Linked DNA regions of Homo sapiens: region 1 is linked to region 2. Evidence: promoter capture Hi-C in 16 types of primary human blood cells and fetal thymus (Javierre and others, 2016). All regions are on one chromosome and are shown on one strand. Each heading gives the region's core, a stretch centred on a gene start or on the middle of the fragment in contact. The rest is flanking DNA. Distances are from core to core; before and after follow the strand shown.

The links. The method cuts DNA at HindIII sites, captures the fragments that hold promoters and counts their contacts. A CHiCAGO score of 5 or more calls a contact.
Region 1: a fragment that was not itself captured here is called in contact with the fragment with the promoter of FAR2 in region 2 in 2 of 17 cell types (monocytes and neutrophils); the score reaches 6.3 in monocytes.

Annotation. Positions count from the first base shown.
Region 1 is chr12:29,428,778-29,433,104 of GRCh38, forward strand. The region is part of intron 1 of OVCH1-AS1 (OVCH1 antisense RNA 1); the gene reads left to right. It also overlaps a transcript of OVCH1 not described here. Among named protein-coding and RNA genes, the nearest start is that of OVCH1-AS1, 42 kb to the left of the region's middle. The HindIII fragment of the contact is 4,156 bases long and covers 181-4,327 here.
Region 2 is chr12:29,147,130-29,151,250 of GRCh38, forward strand. It overlaps FAR2 (fatty acyl-CoA reductase 2), which reads left to right and starts at 2,149. Exons shown (of 12, transcript NM_001271783.2): 1 at 2,149-2,278. RefSeq lists silencers at 1,997-2,056, 2,367-2,516. The HindIII fragment of the contact is 9,301 bases long and covers 1-4,121 here.

The DNA.
Region 1 (4,327 bases), core at 1,009-3,508, 280 kb after region 2:
ATGGATTTTAATGGTGTCCTAAGTGGCAGAACTAAGAGGAAACTAGAGAAGTTGATGCAATACTCAATTACAAAATGTTTCAAAAAGTTTCCCTCTATGAGTCAGTCTCATGATGGAATACTGCCAAATGCTCAAGCATGACAGACACTATGTGACCAATACATTTCTAAAGATTATTCAAGCTTGGTAAGTGAGTGTAGCTCACTGGTAGACAGGTGCCTCTCATGTACAAGGCCCTGAGTTTGACTCCCAGCACCTCCAACCATTAATTTCTTAGTCCTCAGCACCACTCATCGGTAAAGATTATTCTGGCTAATGGAACTTTTCTCCACTTTAATTTATCTGAGGTCTAAAAAGGGCCATCTATATTATGAGTATAAAACCTGATACTGGTAACACTGAGTAAATACATTTTCAAAAAAGTTACCATCTAAAAATGCCATTTAGGAAATAAAATCCTTTAAAACATATGGCATCTGGACAAAACCAAGAGTGCCAACTAATGGTTAAATGAGATAGGAATTTTTGTACTAAAAAGTCAAGACAAGCCAGGATTGGGAAGGAATAAAGATCCAGTGAGTGTGATCTCATACTCATCCAACTGTGCTCAATAATGCTATAGGATTCTAATGAAGGATCTGATGAGAAATCACTGACAACAAATGCTATTGTTCCCAAGGCCAATGTAGGTCATGTTTTACATGTATATTCATTATATAAATACTTGGTGCCAGTTAGTGTAGGCCATTTAAGAAAGATAAATTTACAAAGTAGAATTGATTGCTGATATGGTCTATCATAAATATTATATAATCCCAATCACAGTTCAAAGATTCTTCTGTTATAAAGTCTTTAATCATGGCCTTCATTTTATTTACTGTTGTGGAATAAAAAGTCCAAGTGTAATTCAGCATGTTGAGTTAACTGTTAGGATAATCAAGAGATGTGATCTCAACAGAAGTCACTGGAATCAAATCCAATACTGGACATCCTTGAGACAAAGAGAAAAAATATACAATAATCAAAAAGAGAAGTTACTTGAATCTAATTGGAATGTCTACAAGTAGGTCATTAAAACCTAAACTGTAGCATACTTTATTAATTCCTATCATTGCTTCTTGGTATCCACAGATCCTTACTTATGTTTAAATGACTTCTGTTTGGAAAAACGGACCCCCACTTCAAAAGCAAACAGCCTGAATTATTTGACCTTAAATCACAAACTGTAAATCCATTAAGTCACACCACGTCTACATTTCAATTTATTTTTGTCACTCCTATTTCATACATGATCTTATTTAGGTTTCACAATCATAAGATACAGGTATTATTATCTTCAGTCTAGAGGTGTGTGAATTGACACTTGATATTCAAGAGATGTGACCTAAGATCTTTAGGACTTCTCTAAATTTGCAAATGCCATAGTAATATTTCACTTCCCCCATAACTGCATAAAACATAACTTCAATATCATTTATGAAATAGCATTAGCACTATTTTTGTGCTGGTTGGCCCCCTGCCAGGAGGTGGCATTTTCCAGAGAGCACCAGCTGTGGTCGAATGGGGAGGAACAGGTGATAGGCGGGCCCCTAGAACTCCCAAGAGTATATGCCCTCTGCAGTGACCAAGGTGGGTAGGGAAGGACCATTAGGTGGGGGCAGGGCTAAGTGTGTCTGAGCTCAGACTCTCCTTGGCCAGGTCTTGCTACAGCTGCTGTGGGAGATTGGGGTGAGGTTCCCAGGTCAATGGAGTTACATTCCTAGGAGGATTATGACTGTCTCTGCTGTGTCATGCAGGTTTTCAGGGAAACTGGGGGAGAGCTGACAGTCACAGACCTCACCCAGCTCCACACAATCCAAAGGGCTTGTCTCACTTCCACCATGCCCTCTCCAAAAGCACTGAGTCTGTTTCCAGGCAGTGGGTGAGCAGAGCTGGAGAATTTGTCCCAGGCTACCCACCTCCCAGCTGCGAAATCAAGTATGGCTTTCCTTCTATTCCTGCCTGTGGAGTCTGCACACCAGATTAACACCCTCCCTTGAGTTCTGGCCAGGAGGCTTCTTGATCAGTTCAAATTGTTACAAAGTTCAGTTGGAGAGTTCCTTCTCCATGTGGCCTTTTCCCAGTACCTCTAGCTGCCCTCCCAGAGTACCCCTGTGAGTCCAGGCAGAAACGGTTTGCTAAGGCACCAAGCAATCTCCCAAGGCTATGATTGTATTTAATTTTTCCTCTCATGGAATATAGAATAAGAACATTCAGGGTCAATACACCCAATTAAACTTTTATAACATATTTCTTTATTCTGATTATAAAAGCAATGCATATATGCTCATTATAGAAAGTTTCAAAAATAGAGTCCAAAGGAGGAGATAAAAAGTTGTGTTGGGTATGGTGGTTCACGCCTGTAATTCCAGCACTTTGGGAGTCCATGGCAGGAAGATTGCTTGAGCCCAGGAGGTTGAGACCAACCTGGGTAACAGCAAGACCTCGTCTCTACCAAAAAAAACAAAAGTGCTAGCCAGGTATGGTGGTGTGTACTTGTGATCCCAGCTACTTGGGAGGCTGAGGTGGGAGGTTCACTTGAGCCTGGGAGGTTGAAGCTGCGGTGAACCATGATCACACCACTGCACTGCAGCCTGAACAGAGCAAGACCCTGTCTCAAAAAAAAAATCCTCCTATAGTCCCTCCTTTAAGCAACCAATATTCATGTTTTAATGTAAATCTTGCAAAGTCTTTCTATGCTGTATATGTTTAAAAAATTGTATTCCATTTTATACCATTACAACATTTTCCCCCTATTTAATTTATTGTGACCATTTTTCCATGCTACTAACTACCTCATATAAATTATAATGGCTCTATATTTCTTATTCACATAGACATATCATAATTTCTCATAGCGTGTTTTATCTGCAATCTTAAGAACACAAAATGAGTCAGATCTTGAATAAACCTCACACATGGGGTATATAAATCTATTATAATTCTTCTGTCACGAAAAACATGTCTACATTAAAGGTTTTCTATGTTTATCTGAAAAACAGAATGAATATATGTAATAAGAGTCTCTTACCTGAGTTAACCCCTACTCATACATTAGCTCTCAGGCAGGAGGATTCGCCTAAGCAAAATAGACACGTTTGTTAACCCATTCATCAGCTAAGGAGCTACCTCCTTATTTTCCACTCCTACTCTGCCTTAGCTGAAATGTCATTACCTTTATTCAAATAAACAATTCTTGAGTACTATTTACCACGCATAGTTATAGGTTTCAGGGATATAGCAGAGGGCATGCTTGCTGAGGAACAGCAGCAAGGTTGGCATGGCTGGGTATGAAGTGAGCACTGGGAAAAGTAGCAGGGGAAGACATCAAAGGGATAGTCAAGAGCCAGATCCTATAGCATCTTGTAGGCACTATAAGGACTTTTACTATGAATGAGTTAGGAAAACATTGGATTATAAACATGATCTCAATTACTCATTTTAAAATGATCACTTTGGCTATTACACATAAAACTGGCTAAAGGAAGGCTGTACCAAAATATTATGGTGGAATTGTTCAGAAGTAGTAGCATTCTAGCTCTATTTTACTGAAAGACCTACTGATGAGCTATACTTGATGTGGAATGTGAGAAATCAAGGTGGACCAAGTTTAATGGCCTGAGTAATTAATTAGCAAAATGGAGTTGCTATCTACTAAGGTGGGAAAGATTGGTGGAGGAAGAGCTTGGAGGCAGGGGTAGGAAATCAAGGGTTCAATTTTGGTCATGTTAAGTTTGAGATTCTTATTAGATAGCCAAGTGGAAGGGGAGACACTTGGATATACAGTGCTAGTGTTCAATAAAGAAGCTGGGACTGGATATATAAATTTGGAAGTTATCACTGTATAGATGGTATTTAAAGCTAGAGAATGGGTGAGATCACTAAGGAAGGAGTATAGGTAAAGAAAGGAAGAGAGTCAAAGACTGGGTCCTGGGATACCTCAACTGACAGTGATAGAGAAAATGAGGAAAAACCAGCCAAGACTCTGAAGGAGACCAGTGAGCTCTCCTTTTTTGGAGACCAAAACAAGTGAGATTTGAGGAGGGAGAGCTCGTCTGTGTCATGACTGAGAAGGGACTACCAAATCTGGACTTGTGGAAGTCATTGATAGCTTCAGCAAGAACAGTGTCCATGAAATGGTAGGAAAAAAATAAAGCCATATGAGGATAAATTCAAGAAAAACGAGAGGGCAAAAGGGGAGACAGTGAGTATAAATAACTTCCATGGAGTCTTGCTAAAAAAAAGAGAAATCCAAGTTTTCCTTGATTCCCTTCCCTGTCCTCCATCG
Region 2 (4,121 bases), core at 899-3,398:
TGAGCTCTAAATCATATATGACTGGTATCTTTATAAAGGATAAATTTTGACACAGACATGAACATAGGGAGAATGCCATATGAAGATTATAGGAGACAGGGGTCATGTGTCTACAAGCCAACAAGAAACCACTGGAAGTAGGTAAGCATCATGGAAAATTCTCTCTCAAAGCCCTCATAAGGAACCAACCCTGCAGACATCTTGATCTTGGTCTTCTAGCCTCCAGAATTATGAAATAATACATTTCTATAGTTTAATCCACCCAGTTTATGTGCATCCTTATGACAGCCTTAGCAAACTAATACATTCTACATATATGAATAGCGTTTTAAATGGTGATAATCAAATTGTGGTTTTGTAATCTATAATTAATGTTGTATTTTATCTATGAACATCCCACTGAAAGTATGCTTTTAATTTCCTACTTTATAAACAACTCGGTAATAAATATGCAACTATGTACATGCGGCATTTCTCTTTTATGGATTATCTCCTTTGAATACATTGTAAGACATGGGAATCTAGGTCCAGAACAAGAAAAAATTTCGTTACTGAACACCTTGGGAATGTGTTGCTAAATTGCTTTCCAACAAAAGCGTGATTACAATTTACCTTCCATCTGCTATCTGTTAAGTGATTTCTATACGTTTTCACCAGCATTTGACATTATCATTTGAAGTGCTGTCACACACATTTTGAAGATACATTCAAATTTATTCTTGAGGAGGGGAGGGGTAACGAAAAATACTATAAATTTGGTTGTAACTTTTTTTCTGTCTCTTGCATTCAGGCGGTCACCAGAGGAAATTAGTCAGTGCCTTTAGGCTACACTTAGCTTAACACATTTCATTAAAGAGCCCAGTAGTAGAGAATTCAAGATGGGTGTTATTATTTTAATTTCATGAAATCACTCCTTAATTCTAACTTTCAAAAGTCAAATTTTATTTCTTTAATTGCATGTGGATTGTTATAATGAGGAGAATCAGAACAGCTTATAGGACAATATTTCTTTTCTATTTTTCTTAACACACCATATTTATTTGGAAATTTACCTCCTACATTGTCCAGGGAATTAGGATGGGCGTTGGCCGTTTTTCAGCACTTCCTGGTTGAGGCCAAGGGCTCCACTCACGTGCCTGTCCATCCCTCTACAAGGCTTCCCTGGCAGCTTGTTTTTCCGTTTAAAATTTAACAATGACCAAATCCCAAAAAAGCTACCAGGCTAAGAAATGAAACATCTTTTTTTCTTTTAAGTCCGGAGAAGTGCTGCTGAGCACAGCTGGCTCACTGCTGTTTCTGCGGCCCCCATCTCTGATCCTTTCTAGTCTCCTACCCACCCCCACCCCACCATAGGCAGGCAGAGCCGGATTTCTGCCCTTCAAACCCCGAGTGTGAGGAAGCCTCACCTGAAGTCCTCGCATCACCCTCCACCCTCACGCCCTTGGGTTTTAAAAAGCCACTGCGTTCGTGGGTCACTGCAGGGCGCCTCCGCAATGTCTTTAGCAGATACAAGAGCATCCCTCCCACGGGATGTGCAGTGTAGTCAAGCTGAGTAAACTGGGATTTTTGGCTGCCTTTTCTGCTAGGGTGGGTGGGGAAAGGTATGTCCCCCAAGCGTTCAGTTCAGACTAGAACCTTTGAATCTCTCTCCTGTCTCGGTCTCTCCCTCCACCCCCCTACCCCGCCACCTTTCACGGTGTGGGAGTTCTCCTTTCCCACACCAGAGAGGGGCGCCTTTCTAGCTTCCTTGTCCCCTCGCCCACTGATTAAAAAATGGAGAAAAAAACCAACCCCAAAACCCAAAACAAAACAAAACAAAAGCCCCAAACAAACAAACAAACCAAACCCACCGAAACCAAAACCAACTCCCCTCCCCCAAACCACACAAATGCGGGAGTCATAGCCAGTGGATCCGCTGGTGCTGAACGAATGGAAGCGCGGGGCGGGCCTGCGCGCGCGGCCGCCCTGCCCACGATGCTGTCGCCCCCGCGACCTGTAGGGCCTTCGCTGGCCCCTCACCCTCCTCCCGCCCCGGGCTGAGGCTGCCGCCGGTTTCGCGCCCAGTGCCGAGGCAGCGGCGGAGCCGGGGAAGGTCGGAGGGAGGGTGGTTTCCTCCCGCCCCACACCCAGTCTCCGAGCCGGATATATAGAGTGTCACGTTTGGGAGCCGAAAGACTGGAGCCGTTTCCTTGTGGCTGGAGCGCTTCCCGTAGCCTCGGGGAAGGAGCAGGATTTAGAGGACCACTAGTTGGACCCCATCCTCGTGCTGGAGGAACAGGTATTCCAGGGTCCCCAGCCCTGGCGCTCGCAGAGCCCACGCGCTCCAAAAGCAGAGACCGGACTGGGGGTGGCCCAGGAGGGAGGGCTCGGCTGGGTTCGCAGGGCGGGGCGGTTCCCGGCGGGACCTCGAGGAGGGTGGGTGTGAGGCCGGGTGGGAGGAGAGAAGCATTTGCGGAGGCTCTGCCCCCTGAAGCTGCCCCCGGCTGCACCCCAATCGTCACCGGCCGTTTACGCGCGGTTGGCGTCGGCGGAGCCCGCCAAGGTGGGGCGCGCGGGGGTTGCAAAGGGCAGAAAGCCGGGAAGGACCCAGCAAGGTTAATGTGGGGGGCCGCGCCTTGGGGACTGGGGACCCGGGAAGAGAGGCGCGGGGCCGAGTCCCACCCAGGCCTCCTGGGCCCTTGGGGCTATTCCTGGAGAGAGCGCGAAAATGCCGGGGCCACGTGTGAAACGGCAGCGGTCCTAGGTCCCCTCCCGGTGCCTGGGACCGCCAGGGCGCCCAGTCCTGGTCCCCGGAGCAGGTCCTCGCCAGCCCCCAGCCCCACCCCAGGCTGCGCACGTCCCTACCCTCCCACCTGGGCCTCGCCGGGGTCGTGGCTGACGCGCGCTGGGGCGACTGGTGAGGCCAGGGCGGGCTTTGCCCCTGTAGGAAGTTTTAGACATCTTCCTGCGGCCTGGGCATCCTGGGGGTGTGCAGGGGAGCAGGTGCCAGCAGACTCCCAACTGGAGTAGATGGCTTGCAGGAAGGCTGCTCAACACTCCTAGCAAGTAGAATTACCCGCGGGGCAGTCTCAGTCTATTAAAACAATTCATGCCCAATCGTATCCTACAAACCAGAGGAAGGCGTCTCACCTGCCAGCGGTGGCACCATTTCTTCCACGGTTGAGTTATGTGGTGTGAGCAACCAAGGTTATCGCTGGATCTGCAAGAGTTTGGCCACTCGTTGAATCACGTAAAGTGCCCCCATTATGTGATGAGCAAGGACAGAGTAGGGTCAGAAAAGTGACCAGGGAATTCAGGTAGATCGTGCTTTTCTGTTTGCTAGGTTGAGAGAAATTTGACACTGGGCAAATGGAAATTTGAGAATTACCCCGTGGTTTCAATTACCCATCTCTGTATATTCCCATTTATAAGAGCTGGAGATTTGACTGACAGGTGTAGTTAGTCCAAAATTTAGAAAGGGGGGCAAGGGACTAAATAAAAACTTAAGGCAGCCACCTAAACTGCAAGAGCAGGCATTTCCGCAGAAGGGATATTTGTGTGTGAGACTTCTAGGAGATGGGCATGAGGTTTTTACCAGGCCGACGCGTGTGTCAATATTTCATCGGTAGTATTTCTCAGGATCCACGTCTTTACAGTACTCTTTTCCTAATTCTGAGGGCTGCTTCTGCCCCTGCTGTATTAACAAATTCCTCACTTACTCCTATTTCTAACATTGGGCTATAATTATCTATAAAAGAGATGTAAATCACCATGAGTTGGTAAATCATACAGCTATTAGAGAAATTAAAGTAAATGAAAATATGCTTTCCTTAAAGGAAGCTAAAATGTGACATCCAGTTACAGAGGAAGAGGGAGAGGTTGAAAATAAATAAAATGGCTTATATTAGGGTATCACTTTGGGGTTTATAAAGCATATGATCATCTTGACCATCTCACCATCTGCTTTCCTATCTCCTGAGGAAGAAGCATTCTTGAGTGCATTTGTTTCTGGCAACGTCTCATCAGTGTTAAGAATTCCTTGATTTTGCATTAATTCCCATGCACTCATGAAAACTTACTTATTCACAAATATAGCCTTGTGAAGGATCATGCACAGTGACCACCAGCATGCTTGTCCCTAC